Linked DNA regions of Homo sapiens: region 2 is linked to region 1. Evidence: promoter capture Hi-C in 16 types of primary human blood cells and fetal thymus (Javierre and others, 2016). All regions are on one chromosome and are shown on one strand. Each heading gives the region's core, a stretch centred on a gene start or on the middle of the fragment in contact. The rest is flanking DNA. Distances are from core to core; before and after follow the strand shown.

The links. The method cuts DNA at HindIII sites, captures the fragments that hold promoters and counts their contacts. A CHiCAGO score of 5 or more calls a contact.
Region 2: a contact is called between the fragment with the promoter of AGXT here and the fragment with the promoter of SNED1-AS1 in region 1, in 1 of 17 cell types (M2 macrophages). The highest score is 5.7, in M2 macrophages.

Annotation. Positions count from the first base shown.
Region 1 is chr2:241,062,373-241,068,778 of GRCh38, forward strand. SNED1-AS1 (SNED1 antisense RNA 1) reads right to left here and starts at 1,746. Exons shown (of 3, transcript NR_187212.1): 1 at 1,708-1,746. It overlaps SNED1 (sushi, nidogen and EGF like domains 1), which reads left to right. Exons shown (of 32, transcript NM_001080437.3): 17 at 419-532; 18 at 1,215-1,328; 19 at 1,640-1,753; 20 at 2,472-2,585; 21 at 2,927-3,223; 22 at 5,392-5,575. It also overlaps a transcript of MTERF4 not described here. RefSeq lists a silencer at 1,695-1,854. The HindIII fragment of the contact is 14,458 bases long and covers 1-6,056 here.
Region 2 is chr2:240,864,037-240,870,194 of GRCh38, forward strand. It overlaps AGXT (alanine--glyoxylate aminotransferase), which reads left to right and starts at 4,788. Exons shown (of 11, transcript NM_000030.3): 1 at 4,788-4,994; 2 at 5,134-5,326. The coding sequence starts at 4,830. RefSeq lists an enhancer at 4,307-4,807. The HindIII fragment of the contact is 16,005 bases long and covers 2,424-6,158 here.

The DNA of each region.
Region 1 (6,406 bases), core at 496-2,995:
GCTTGAAAAGAAAGCTGTGGTGAATCATTTAAAACCAAGATTTGTCCCAGATGGACTGGTTTCACAGGTGACTATTATACATTGAAATGGCAAGATGGGACATGAGACATTTTCTGTCAAACCCCTGAGGCCTTTGTCCTGTCGGCCTGAACCACTGGAATTAAGTCCCACAGCGTCTTCTGGGAGCCCTGGGGTGGTTTCAAGCCCGCCCTGCTGCTTCACAGACACAGCCAGGCACTGAGCCCCAGGCCCACTGCCCTGCCCCGACTCCAAGGATATCCAGCCCTGGTCTCTGGCCTTTCCAACCACTGATGATGTATCATCGAATTCTGTCTGGCCCCTCAGGACTAGTTTATGTGCATCTTAATTTGGCTTAATCGTGGCCACATTGCTTTATTCTTGGGCTCTCTCCTCTCAGAAATCGATGAGTGCCGGTCTCAGCCGTGCCTGCATGGGGGCTCTTGTCAGGACCGCGTTGCTGGGTACCTGTGCCTCTGCAGCACAGGCTATGAGGGCGCCCACTGTGAGCTGGGTAAGAGGGGCCCTGGCCCCGCTGGGGTGACAGCTGCAGCACACTGGCCATGTGCCTGAGGCACTGGGTCCCCCGGACAGGTCTCTGTCTGGATGGCCAGGGTGGCCACTGCATGCTTTCTCGGGCCCCTGCCAGCTCTGACATCCAAGACAAAGATTTTACAAATATCCCTTCCTGCACCTCCCCAGGGGAGACTGAGAGCCCAGCTGAGAAATGCTGGCCTGGCTTCAGGGCGCAGAGAAGGTGGGCGTCGGAGAGGGCAGGTCACAGTCTCTGACACCTGGTCGGTGCTTCCAGCCAGTGGAGGGAGGGGAGGCCTGCCCCATGAGCCCTGCACACTCTTGTACCTCGCTAGGGCTCTAAGCCTGAGAAACGCAGGCTCCAGGGAGGGCAAGGCCCAGGGAGCCGTGCCCAGTCGTGGCCCTGGGGAGCCTCCCATTGCGGAGTGGCCTGGAGGAAGGCATGGCCTGGAGGTGGGGCTTTGCCAGCAGGCAGTGGAGGTGGCACGCCTCCCGAGGAGGGGTGGGTTTGGGGCTGATGGAAGAAAAAGCACATGTCCTGAGTAGTTGCTCCCAGCTGGGAAAGGGGTAACTGAAGCCCCAGGAAATGCACGGAATCCTGGGGGCATGTGGGCGCCTCAGACTTGAGCCAGCAACACCCTTGACACCCCTTCTCTGTGCAGAGAGGGATGAGTGCCGAGCTCACCCGTGCAGAAATGGAGGGTCCTGCAGGAACCTCCCAGGGGCCTATGTCTGCCGGTGCCCTGCAGGCTTCGTTGGAGTCCACTGTGAGACAGGTAGGGGCTCCCTCCAGTGGGCCCCACATGCAGAGCCTGGGCCTCTGGAAGATCAGAGAGGAGGTGGGGCATCCCCACATTCCCTGCTGGGCAGGCCACCTGGGGAGAGGGACCCCCAGGGCTGCGGCCACCTTGGGAGGGAGGGGTGGAGGTGAGGGTGCTGGGGAGGGCTGAGGGGCGGGACCTGCCCACTGCCCCTCTCTCCTGGCCTCCGCCCCTAGACTCCTCCTTTCCCTTCTTCCCGCTGTCCTCTCCTCCCTCCCCCAGACTCCCCCCTTGCAGCTTGGGCCCACTCTCTGGGTGTTCTCCAGAGGTGGACGCCTGCGACTCCAGCCCCTGCCAGCATGGAGGCCGGTGTGAGAGCGGCGGCGGGGCCTACCTGTGCGTCTGCCCAGAGAGCTTCTTCGGCTACCACTGCGAGACAGGTAGGGCGGCAGGCCTGCCTGCTCCCCGCCCTCTGCCCGCCTGCTCCCCGCCCTCTGCCCGCCTGCTGCCCGCCCTCTGCCCGCCTGCTCCCCGCCCTCTGCCCGCCTGCTCCCCGCCCTCTGCCCGCCGCCTTGGAAGTCCCCTTCTCAGGCCAGTGGCCCTCCGCCTGTCTCCCTTGGTCCCACAATGGTGCCTTCTAAACCTCCCCATCTCCTGCGCTCACCCCCCAGACACCCCTCTTCACCCGAGGACACACCCAGGGGTGGGGCCTCACGTCCACACATAGGCCCTGCTGCCCTTGGACAGGCCAAGTTTCTTGCACACCCAGGTCTGGCCCCTGGCTGTCCTTCCATCTGGAACATTCTCCCTAATCAGCCCCCAGTGGGATACCTCCTGATGAGGCTTCCCTGACCACTGACCTCCCCTCCTCAAGCAGGACTGTCACTGGGGTGGTGGCCTGTCCTGTCCTGATCCAGTGTCTCCTCCCCTCAGCCAGTCCGGCTGGTGGCACTCCGCTGTGGAGGGTGGAGGAGCTGCTGGGTTGGGCCCCGCAGGGCAGTGGAGGTGGCAGAACCGAAGGGAGGCAGTAGCTGTCCTGTGCCCCCCGCCCCTCCACACCCACGCAGGAGGGACCCAGTGCCCCAGGAGCAAGGGCGGGGCTGGAGCAGGGACCCCTGGCCACGCCCCAACATACACTGCCACTTTTTCTCCCCTCAGTGAGTGACCCCTGCTTCTCCAGCCCCTGTGGGGGCCGTGGCTATTGCCTGGCCAGCAACGGCTCCCACAGCTGCACCTGCAAAGTGGGCTACACGGGCGAGGACTGCGCCAAAGGTGGGTGGCGAGGGCGCCTCCAGTGAGGGAGCCACGAGGGGGTCCCCTCTCCCTAGAGGGCCCAACGGTCTCCAAGGGCAGAGCGTCTGGCCGCTGCTTGCCCAGGCCCCTTCCCTGAGGAACAGGGAGGGGATAAAATCCCCCGGTGGGCTTGAAACACGGTCACACATTCAAAAGTGTGACCCTCCTGGAGGTACGTGGCCAGGGACAAAGAAGGACTCTGCCAGCGATGGCTGTGTCAGGCCCAAGAGCCAGACCCGGCTGAGCCGCCGACGGGAGCCAGGCATGCATAGCTAACGGCTGACCAGTCCCCTCCCCTTGTTTTGACCCAAACCCTGAAGAGCTCTTCCCACCGACGGCCCTCAAGATGGAGAGAGTGGAGGAGAGTGGGGTCTCTATCTCCTGGAACCCGCCCAATGGTCCAGCCGCCAGGCAGATGCTTGATGGCTACGCGGTCACCTACGTCTCCTCCGACGGCTCCTACCGCCGCACAGACTTTGTGGACAGGACCCGCTCCTCGCACCAGCTCCAGGCCCTGGCGGCCGGCAGGGCCTACAACATCTCCGTCTTCTCAGTGAAGCGAAACAGTAACAACAAGAATGACATCAGCAGGCCTGCCGTGCTGCTGGCCCGCACGCGTGAGTGTCCCCGAGCCTGGCCGTCCCTGCCCAGCCCCTGCCCCTCGAGGGCAGCGCTGGCCCCGGCACCTGCAGGGCGGCTGTCATGCCGTCCACCCTCCTAGTTCTTGCAGCAGCAAGACAGACAGCTGAGCTGGGGGTTGGAGGCACCGCCCTGCTGGAGACAGAGCTGTGTGGGAGTGGCCTTGGGTCCACAAGATACAGGCATGGGATTGGGGCGCATAGAATCGAGCCAAGAGTGGGAGCAGCACAACCCCCAGGCATGGAGCTAGGAAGTGGGACTGGGGAGGAATGGGGGCTTCCCAAAAGGGTCCCTAGAAGGAGCCAGTGTGGGAGACAGGGGCCGCGGGGGTGGGCTTGGGGGGGCTGGGACTCTGGGGTGCTCTGAAGGCCTGGGGAGAGTTTGAAAGAGGCACCTGCTCACAGGGATATGTAGGCGCTGAGGTGTGCTAAGGGGAGGCATCGGTGGCTCAATCGGGAAGAGCCGTGGGGCAGGCCCTAGATGGAATGACAGACCCAGAGCCTCCACCTGGAGCTGGCACTGAAAGCTGTGACCAGATGTGACCCCTGAAGAGGGGGTCCTAGGAGGAGCCTCCTCAGAGCCTGAGCCACCAAGATTGCAGGGGAGGCCCGGGTTGTGCACAGCCTGTGGGGTTGTTGCCGTGTCGGGGAGCAGAAGATGCTGAGCGCTCTAGGGAAGGCGTCAGGGCTTAGCGGGCTTGTGTGCTGCTGGGAGGGATTCTGGGAAGGAGAAAGGAGCCCTAGAACATGGCAGTGGACGGACAGGGGCAGGGCCGGAAGAAAGCAGAGGGCTGGCCTTCCACGGAGCCCGGCCGCATCAGCTAGAGCACAGGGGATCTCGGAACAGGCTGGGCAGGAACCAAGTGGGGTGCAGGGCCATGGGGCCATGGGACTCTCACCCAACATGCCTGTGGCCTCCAGACACAGGAGCAAGAATGGGGAAGGGGTGCTAGAGGCTCGAGGAAAGAGGAAAAGGTGCTGAGAGCACAGACTGCTGCGAAGTGGCGTGATGGATGGATGGGTGGGTGGGTGGCCAGGGCTTCAGGGAGGCCTAAGCATCCAGCAGGGCCCTGCGGGGCGGCCACGTGAGTTTGGTGAAACCTATGGGTAGCATGGCGGGTAGGTGGGGAGGAGCTCGGCGGTTCTCACAGGAGGAAAGCCTCCTGGCCACACCTGGGCCCTAGCTTGATGCCAATGCCAAGGGCATTGAGGGACAGGAGAAGGCATTCAAGGCAGCTTGAGCCCACCCAGAGGCCCACAAGGGCCTGTCCTGCAGGAGTTGACCACCAAGGGGCTGGAGTTCCCAACACAGCAAGGACACAGAGCACACCTCGGCCAGTGGAGAGCCTGGGCGCATGTGCGGGTGGCACTGAGCAGGTGTCAGCAGGAGCTGCCAGGGGCTGAGTAGGGGTGGCTCGCCTGGGCTGTTTTAGGAAGAAGCACCTGCAAGGCCGCCCCATGTGAGATCTGCCCTCGGAAGGTATCTGGAGTGAAGACAGAGCCCGCCCTGCCCGCTGCAGAGTTGGGGCTCCAGCCAGCCATGGTGGGTGGAAGGGACCGCTGTCCACAGACCGGGGTGCTGAGTTGCCGGGAGCTGAGCGCTGCCCTCTGGGCTCTGCCTGGTGCATCAGCAGTGGCACTGGAGCTTCGGAGGAGACTGGCTGGGCGGGAAGCGGAGCTCACAAGTGGCCCCTTCCCTGCAGTTGCTGGGAGTTCTGTATGTCTGTCCTCCTAAGACAGCGTTGCCCAGACCAGGCCCGGATGTGTGCTCTTAGACCAAAATAGTCAACTGGCACAGAAAAGGGGAGGTCCGGGTTACTCATGTCCAGAGGGACTCCGGCCCATCCCCTGCCATGTCACTGCCACATCTAAATGGAGACTAAGACCCCTGCCTCTGGTAAGACGGGCTGGCCCACAGCGGGCTCTGCAGCCGTCATGCTCACAGCGGGTTCTGCAGCTGTCAGCCCTGGAGGCCAGAGCCTGGGCATCCCACTCAGCCCGAGTTCCCTGAGCAGTTGATGGGACACCCTCTCCAGTGCCTCTCTGTGGCCCCCAGCACCCTCCCAAGCCTGGTTTCATCTTGAGCCCCTGCACTCCCCCAGGAGCAAGGAGGGGCCGGCACCTGCTGAACAGTCCATTCCCCCTAGGACCCCGCCCTGTGGAAGGCTTCGAGGTCACCAATGTGACGGCTAGCACCATCTCAGTGCAGTGGGCCCTGCACAGGATCCGCCATGCCACCGTCAGTGGGGTCCGTGTGTCCATCCGCCACCCTGAGGCCCTCAGGGACCAGGCCACCGATGTGGACAGGAGTGTGGACAGGTTCACCTTTAGGTAAGAAGGGACACCCAGAGCATGGGGCTGGGGTGAAGGCAGGGGTGGGGGCTCGGGGACACGGGGCCCAGGTCTCGGGCACATTCTCCGTGTGTGGACTGTACCACCTGCCGCTCCTCACCTGAGCGGAGACAAAGGTCTCAGGTGAGCCAGCCTCAGACCCTGGAGGCTTCACTCCCGCCTCACCTCATCAGGGCTGCCAAGAGAGGATACACCTTGGTAGTGTTTTAAAGTGTCCAAAAAGAGCAGGAAAAGCTCAGAAAATCCGGGGGCACACTTTCCACACAGATCATGAGAGTGACTTGGCCCCTCAGAGAGCAGCGGCCAGCGAGGGTAGATGGTAGCAGCCCCGAGCTCTCCCAGGAGTCCCACAGTGGACCCCTCAGAGAGCAGCGGCCAGCGAGGGTAGATGGTAGCAGCCCCGAGCTCTCCCAGGAGTCCCACAGTGGACCCCTGTGATTTGGTCGCCAACCAAAGAGAAAGCTTCCGAATCGTGCTCAGCGCAGGCAGGGGTGCAGGAAAAGATCGGAGAGCGAGTGGGAAGGAAGACTCCAGCCAGCAGCTTCCTGGGGCTGGGGTGGCATTGGCCTCACGTTGTCCTGTGGTTTCCTGAGAATTTACATCAACTCACCTGTGCTGAGGGCCCGTCCCCCATCCCTGCACAGTGACCACTTCCCCCTTCTCTGGCCTCTCCCAGCTGAACACCGGCCCTCTGACCATACTGTAGCAGCCCCAAGCGCACCCGATCCTCCTCCGCTGCCCGGACTATGGGTTGGCTTCCCGCCCTAGGAGCACACGGCTCTGAGGGCCATGAGTCTGCCCCTCGTGGAG
Region 2 (6,158 bases), core at 3,538-6,037, 200 kb before region 1:
GATTTGGGGTCCCTCAATCCCTCCAATCAGACAATGGCCTGGCCTTTATTTCTTCTATTACTCCAGGAATCAGTGAGGCCCTCCAAATAAAATATCACTTACATGCTGCTTACCACCCACAGTCATCCAAGGGCCAAGCTAGCTTTGAAAACCCTTCTCACTAAGCTCTCTATAGAAACTCAACTGTTTTGGATAACTTTTCTTCCTATTGCCCTGTTAAGATCTAGAGTAATTCCCAAAGGTTTCAACCCACCTTAGCCCTTTTGAAATTATTTATGGATGCCCCTTTTTACAAACGGACTTATTACTTGATCCAGAGGCTCATTATCTGTCTCAATGTGATGCCTCCCTGGGCAAACTATCCAGGCCACTACTGAATACCAGGATAAATTTTGTCCAAAATCTGACCCCTCCTCATCAGAACTAAGACCTCCTGTTAACCTGGGGACTGGGTATATTTAAAAACTTTGCCTCCAGACAGAAAACCCCTTCCAGCCCTCTGGACTGGACCCTTTCAAGTCCTCATAGCCTCTCCCACAGCTGTTAACTGCAGGGATTCTCCCCTTGGGTCCACCTTTGCCACATAAAGTCTGTACTGCCGCCAGAACTCCAGCCTGCTTACACTTTGAGCCCTTGGAAGATCTATGATTTTTGTTTTGCAAACAACCAGGTGACACTAACCTCTCTTCAAAAGCAAAGGATACCACGTAAGCCTTTTGCTGTGTTTATCATTCACTTTCCTTTCCCTCCCTTGTCATTCATTTCCTTATGTACTCTAGAAGCGTTTTTAGGTCCTCCAATTTTCTGAGATTATCCTCAATTCACTTACTTTTTTTTTTTTTTTTTTTTTGAGACAGAGTTTTGCTCTTGTCACCCAGGCTATAGTGCAATGGTGCGATCTCGGCTCACTGCAACCGCCATCTCCCGGGTTCAAGTGATTCTCCCGCCTCAACCTCCTGAGTAGCTGGGATTACAGGCATGCACCACCATGCCCGGCTATTTTTTTTTTTTTTTTTTTTTTTTTGTATTTTTAGTAGAGACAGGGTTTCACCATGTTGGCCAGGCTGTTCTCACACTTCTGACCTCAGGTGATCCGCCCGTCTCAGCCTCCCAAAGTGCTGGAATTACAGGCATGAGCCACCACACCCAGCCAATTTACTGTCTCTTTATCCAATCCCCATTTCTCAAGACCCACATACAATTATTCAGCTTGCACTAGATTTTTATTTGCAGGGTGGTTTTTCTAATTATACTTGGAGCAACTTTTGTAACAGTCCTTGAATTAGAACAATGAGACTCCTTTTTTCTTTCTTTCATGTTTTTCTCTTTATCTCTCATATAAAAACTTCCCAATCCTCTTGGTTTGACAATATCATCTTCAGCATCTCACATGCTATTGTGAGAGGAGAAAATACTCTGTGTGGCTGGCTTTGCCGTCCACAACCTGCTACTCCAAGCCATGTAGATTCTTCTTCGTAAGCACACCCTGTCTCCAATCAAACTGTACTGTTGGGATTTCATTATTCTTCTCACCACTCCTTCCCACCCCGACCATTTCCTTCTGTGCTGGTAAATTGGAAACCACCTCCCTCTTCGTGCTATCATATTACTTCCCCCACCATCCACACTTACAATATCACTGAAACTTCCTTAACTTGTAATGTTATTTTGGGAGGTACACCTTGTTATAATGACACTCATGCAGCTAACTTTGACTCATTTGAGGCCTTCGCCTCCTACAATCAAAACTCTGACTCTGGCCAGGTGCGCTGGCTCACACCTGTAATCCTAACACTTTGGGAGGTAGAGGTGGGTGGATCACCTGAGGTCAGGAGTTCGAGACCAGTCTGACCAACATGGTGAAACCCTGTCTCTACTAAAAATACAAAAATTAGCAGGGCGTGGTGGCAGGTGCCTGTAATCCCAGCTACTCAGGAGGCTGAGGCAGGAGAATCGCTTGAACCCAGGAGCAGAGGTTGCAGTGAGCCAAGGTCACACCACTTCACTCCAGCCTGGGCAACTGAGTGAGACTCCATCTCAAAAAAAAAAAAAAAAAAAATCTGACTCTATCTCATCACTGCCAATTTATAAGCCGTTAAACTGGACCAGTATAGTGGGGCTCCCAGTATACAGCACCCCTGCACTCCTAATACCTTCATGTATGTTACTATAATGATGCAACCAGTGCAGGAAATAACCACCGTGCCACCTGGTTTACATCCTATGCCATGCACTGGCACCCGCCTGCTTTTAAACCTCCTCCATCAGTACATAAACATAGTCTTTCCCCCATATGAGTCCTCTTAAAACTGTCAAAAGGCCCATTTCCTTTTTTCCCAACATTTTAATTAAAATAATCATCCTGCCCCTCCTGGGCTCTTATGGCTTAGCAGCCCCACTAAAAACTATTTAAACCCTTTTCAAGCTTTGGCCCTATCCCACCTTGATCATTCTCTTCACTATGGTGATTGTAGCCTGGGAACAATAGCTCCCACCCAAATCACTGTCTTAAACATCACTTCTAATTCAGAATTCCCTTCTAGAAGGAAAAGGGCCCTGGGACTTACTGTGGCCGGAGTTGTGGGAACTATCACAACTCTTACCCCTTGGGGAGGTTTTACTTACCAGGAAATCACAAGTAAGAGAACCTACCGCCTCCCTTGAAATAGCAAAAGCTGGCACCCATCTATCAGCTCTACAAGTCATTAGACTCACAAGCAGGATTTTGGTGTCTGGTAACAGGTGAGTTCTGGATTACCTCCTAGCTGAACAAGGAGGGGTCTGTGCTGTCATCAACAGGACCCGTTGCACCTACATTTATGTGTCTGGAGAAGTGGAAACCGATGCCCAAGAAATCATCAAACAAGCCAAATGGCTACACACACTTTCCCAAAGCAACCAAGACTGGGCCAAAACTTTTACTGATTGGTTTTCAAAAAATCACTTGGCTTCCCCCATTCCTTAGACCTTTATCTTCTGTCATTTTTCTTTTAATATTTGGTCCCTGCCTTTTTAATGCTCTGATTGCTTTTCTATGTTCTACATGAGAACAATTCCACCTGCAGAAGGCTATGCATTCCCAACACTGGCCTGCAACTGCAGCTCGATTTACATGGGGCTTCTTGATGGAAATACCGGCCTGCAACTGCAGCTCCCATTTACGTGGGGCTTCTTGATGGAATCCCATCACGTGCCTCCGTGCACAAGTTTTCATGACCCTTTATTCCCTTCATGACCGAGAGCAAGAAAGGGAAAAACGTGACCTACCCCCCTGAACTCCCTTTCAGCAGCAAGTAGTCAGGCGCACTGGACACCCCTCTTCACTGTGCCGTTTCCCCTTTCTTGAGACCCCAACAGGAAGCAGGTGGACATGAGCATGGCAGAAAAGGAAGGGTCAAAGATTTCACCAAGATATTTGTCAGAGGGAAAATGAGGACAGCAAAGATCACCTGGAGACCATCAAGCAGGCCCCAGGTGGGGTGGGTGGAGGGGAGCCTCTTTATTTGAGAAATGTAGAATGAATTAGACTTCCCTATTATCTAAAGTTGGCACCTGGTTCCAGGCCTCTTTTCAACCTAAAACTTATACATAACTAGAATTTCTATACATCTCTGGAATGCAGCATGCTGAAACTCACTGTGCAACCCCTGCCTTGTGTGTGTCTGTATACCATGCAGGTTTGCTTGCTAAATTGAGCCTGTAAACCAAAAAGTACCTCAAACAGGTCTCAATTAATTTAGAAAGTTTTTGTTGCCAAGGCTAAGGATGCACCCGTGGTACAGCCTCAGGAGGGAGGACATCCTTGCCAAGCTCAAGGGTGCACCCCTGACCACAAGGGCCCAAGGTGGTCGGGGCACAGCTTGCTTTTATACATTTTAGGGAGATATGAGGCATCAATCAATACATGGGAGATTTACATTGGTTCCATCTGGAAGGGCGGGACAACTTGAATTGGGGGGCTTCCAGGTCATAGGTAGATTTAAACATATTTTGATTGGCAACTGACTGAAGAATTATTATCAGCAGAAAGGAGTGTCTGGGTTATGAAATAGGGGTTGCAGGGAGCAGATGATGCCTTCAGGTAGCGGGATTTAGAGAGAAAATAGATGGTAAATGCTTCCTATCAGACTTAAGGTCTATGTCGATGTTAATGCTGGGGGTTATGATGTGGCATGGCCTGAACGTCTTCCGGGTTAAAGTTTAGAGCACCCTGGCGGACAGGGAACCCCATTCAGATGGTTGCTGGGGGGCCTTCGAATTTTATTTTTGGTTTACAAGCCTTCCCATCAGCTGCGCCAGGGTCAGCAAACCACAGTCCATGGGCCCAATCTGGCCTGCCACCTGCTTTTTGTAAATAAAGTTTTATAGGAACACGCCCACACCTCTGGCAGCTGCTTTGCAAGCACGCAGCAGGGTTGAGTTGTTGCAACATAGACCACAGGGCCTGCCAAGCCTCAATTATCTGTGCTCCGACCCTTTAAGAAACACTTCTCTCACCCCTGAGCTAAGCAGAATAAGAGGGGCTGGACGTGCAGGACTCAGAGTGGGAGCGAGGAGGGCTGGGGTGAGGACAGCTTTGTCACACTCTGTTTTTCTGTCACTCAGCCCTGGGGGCTCCCTCTGCCTGAGGGCTTCGTCCCCTGCTGCCTGGCCGTGACCCGCAGCACAAGCACAGATAAGCCTCAGGGAACAAAAGGCAGGGCTGCCACGGAAGCCCATCCACCAATCCTCACCTCTCACCTCTGTGTCCGCCCTGCTGGGAAATATTCCAGGCTTTGGCCAAGGCCAGTGCAGCCCCAGGTTCCCGAGCGGCAGGTTGGGTGCGGACCATGGCCTCTCACAAGCTGCTGGTGACCCCCCCCAAGGCCCTGCTCAAGCCCCTCTCCATCCCCAACCAGCTCCTGCTGGGGCCTGGTCCTTCCAACCTGCCTCCTCGCATCATGGCAGCCGGGGGGCTGCAGATGATCGGGTCCATGAGCAAGGATATGTACCAGGTAGGAGTGGGGGTCACTCGGGGGGCCTGGGTCTCACCCATGTTCCCACCCACAGATCGTGGACGAGGGAAGGGGGTCACTGCCTCCTCACTTGGGGAGGCGGGGAGCCTGGGTCTCACCCTATACCACCCGCATGCAGATCATGGACGAGATCAAGGAAGGCATCCAGTACGTGTTCCAGACCAGGAACCCACTCACACTGGTCATCTCTGGCTCGGGACACTGTGCCCTGGAGGCCGCCCTGGTCAATGTGCTGGAGCCTGGGGACTCCTTCCTGGTTGGGGCCAATGGCATTTGGGGGCAGCGAGCCGTGGACATCGGGGAGCGCATAGGTAAGGGAGAGGCCCAGGTGGGGATGGCCCTGGATCCATCCTTCAAGGCCTCCCTGGCCTCCCTCTGTTTGAAGCTGGCAGCCCCCGTTCCTGGGTGAGCGCTTACCCACCTTGTGGCCCTGTGCGCACGAACCTCCTGCCAGCCCACTGCCTCCTCCAGGCGGTGTCGGGCACTCATGAGGCCTGACTCTGATAGGGCTGGGAGCAGCACAGGTGCCCCGATCCCCCCAGTCTCCTTGAGCTGTTTCTGGAGCATGTGCAGGACGGAACTACAGGGAAGCCTCTGGTCCCAGCACACACTCCTGAGAGCCCCGGCCGCTGTCCAGGGCCCCAGGCACCAGCTCTGCTTTGTGACAGGGTGGGGTTTCAGAAGCTGAAGCCTCCCCTCAAATCTCAGCAGCCTTCCTTCTGGAATCTTGATGTGATACACAAAATATGGAGGTATGGGCAGAGTATTCGCCTCCGGAGTACACTTTTCTGGGAGAGACACAGGAGCAGGAGTGTGCCCTGGGTTTAATGATTGATTGTGGCATTGAGGGACATCAGCTTGGTGAGCTCCACAATGGCCATGCTGGTTAATACGCGACCGCAACAGCCAAGAGGGTCCCAACCCCAAGTCCACAAACTTTTCAAGGGGACCCAGGGTCGGCAGAGGCCAGGACCCCAAGTGGACATCAGGGCACGCAGGCTCAGATGCCTGTGGTATATGGCTTCCCTTTTCCCCATTCTGTCCCCTTGGCCGCAGGTTCTTCCCCTCCCACAACCTGGCCCTGAACAGCACACAGGATAGGGCAGAGACAGGGAGGGGGTGAGGGCCTGATTCCTGGAGTCC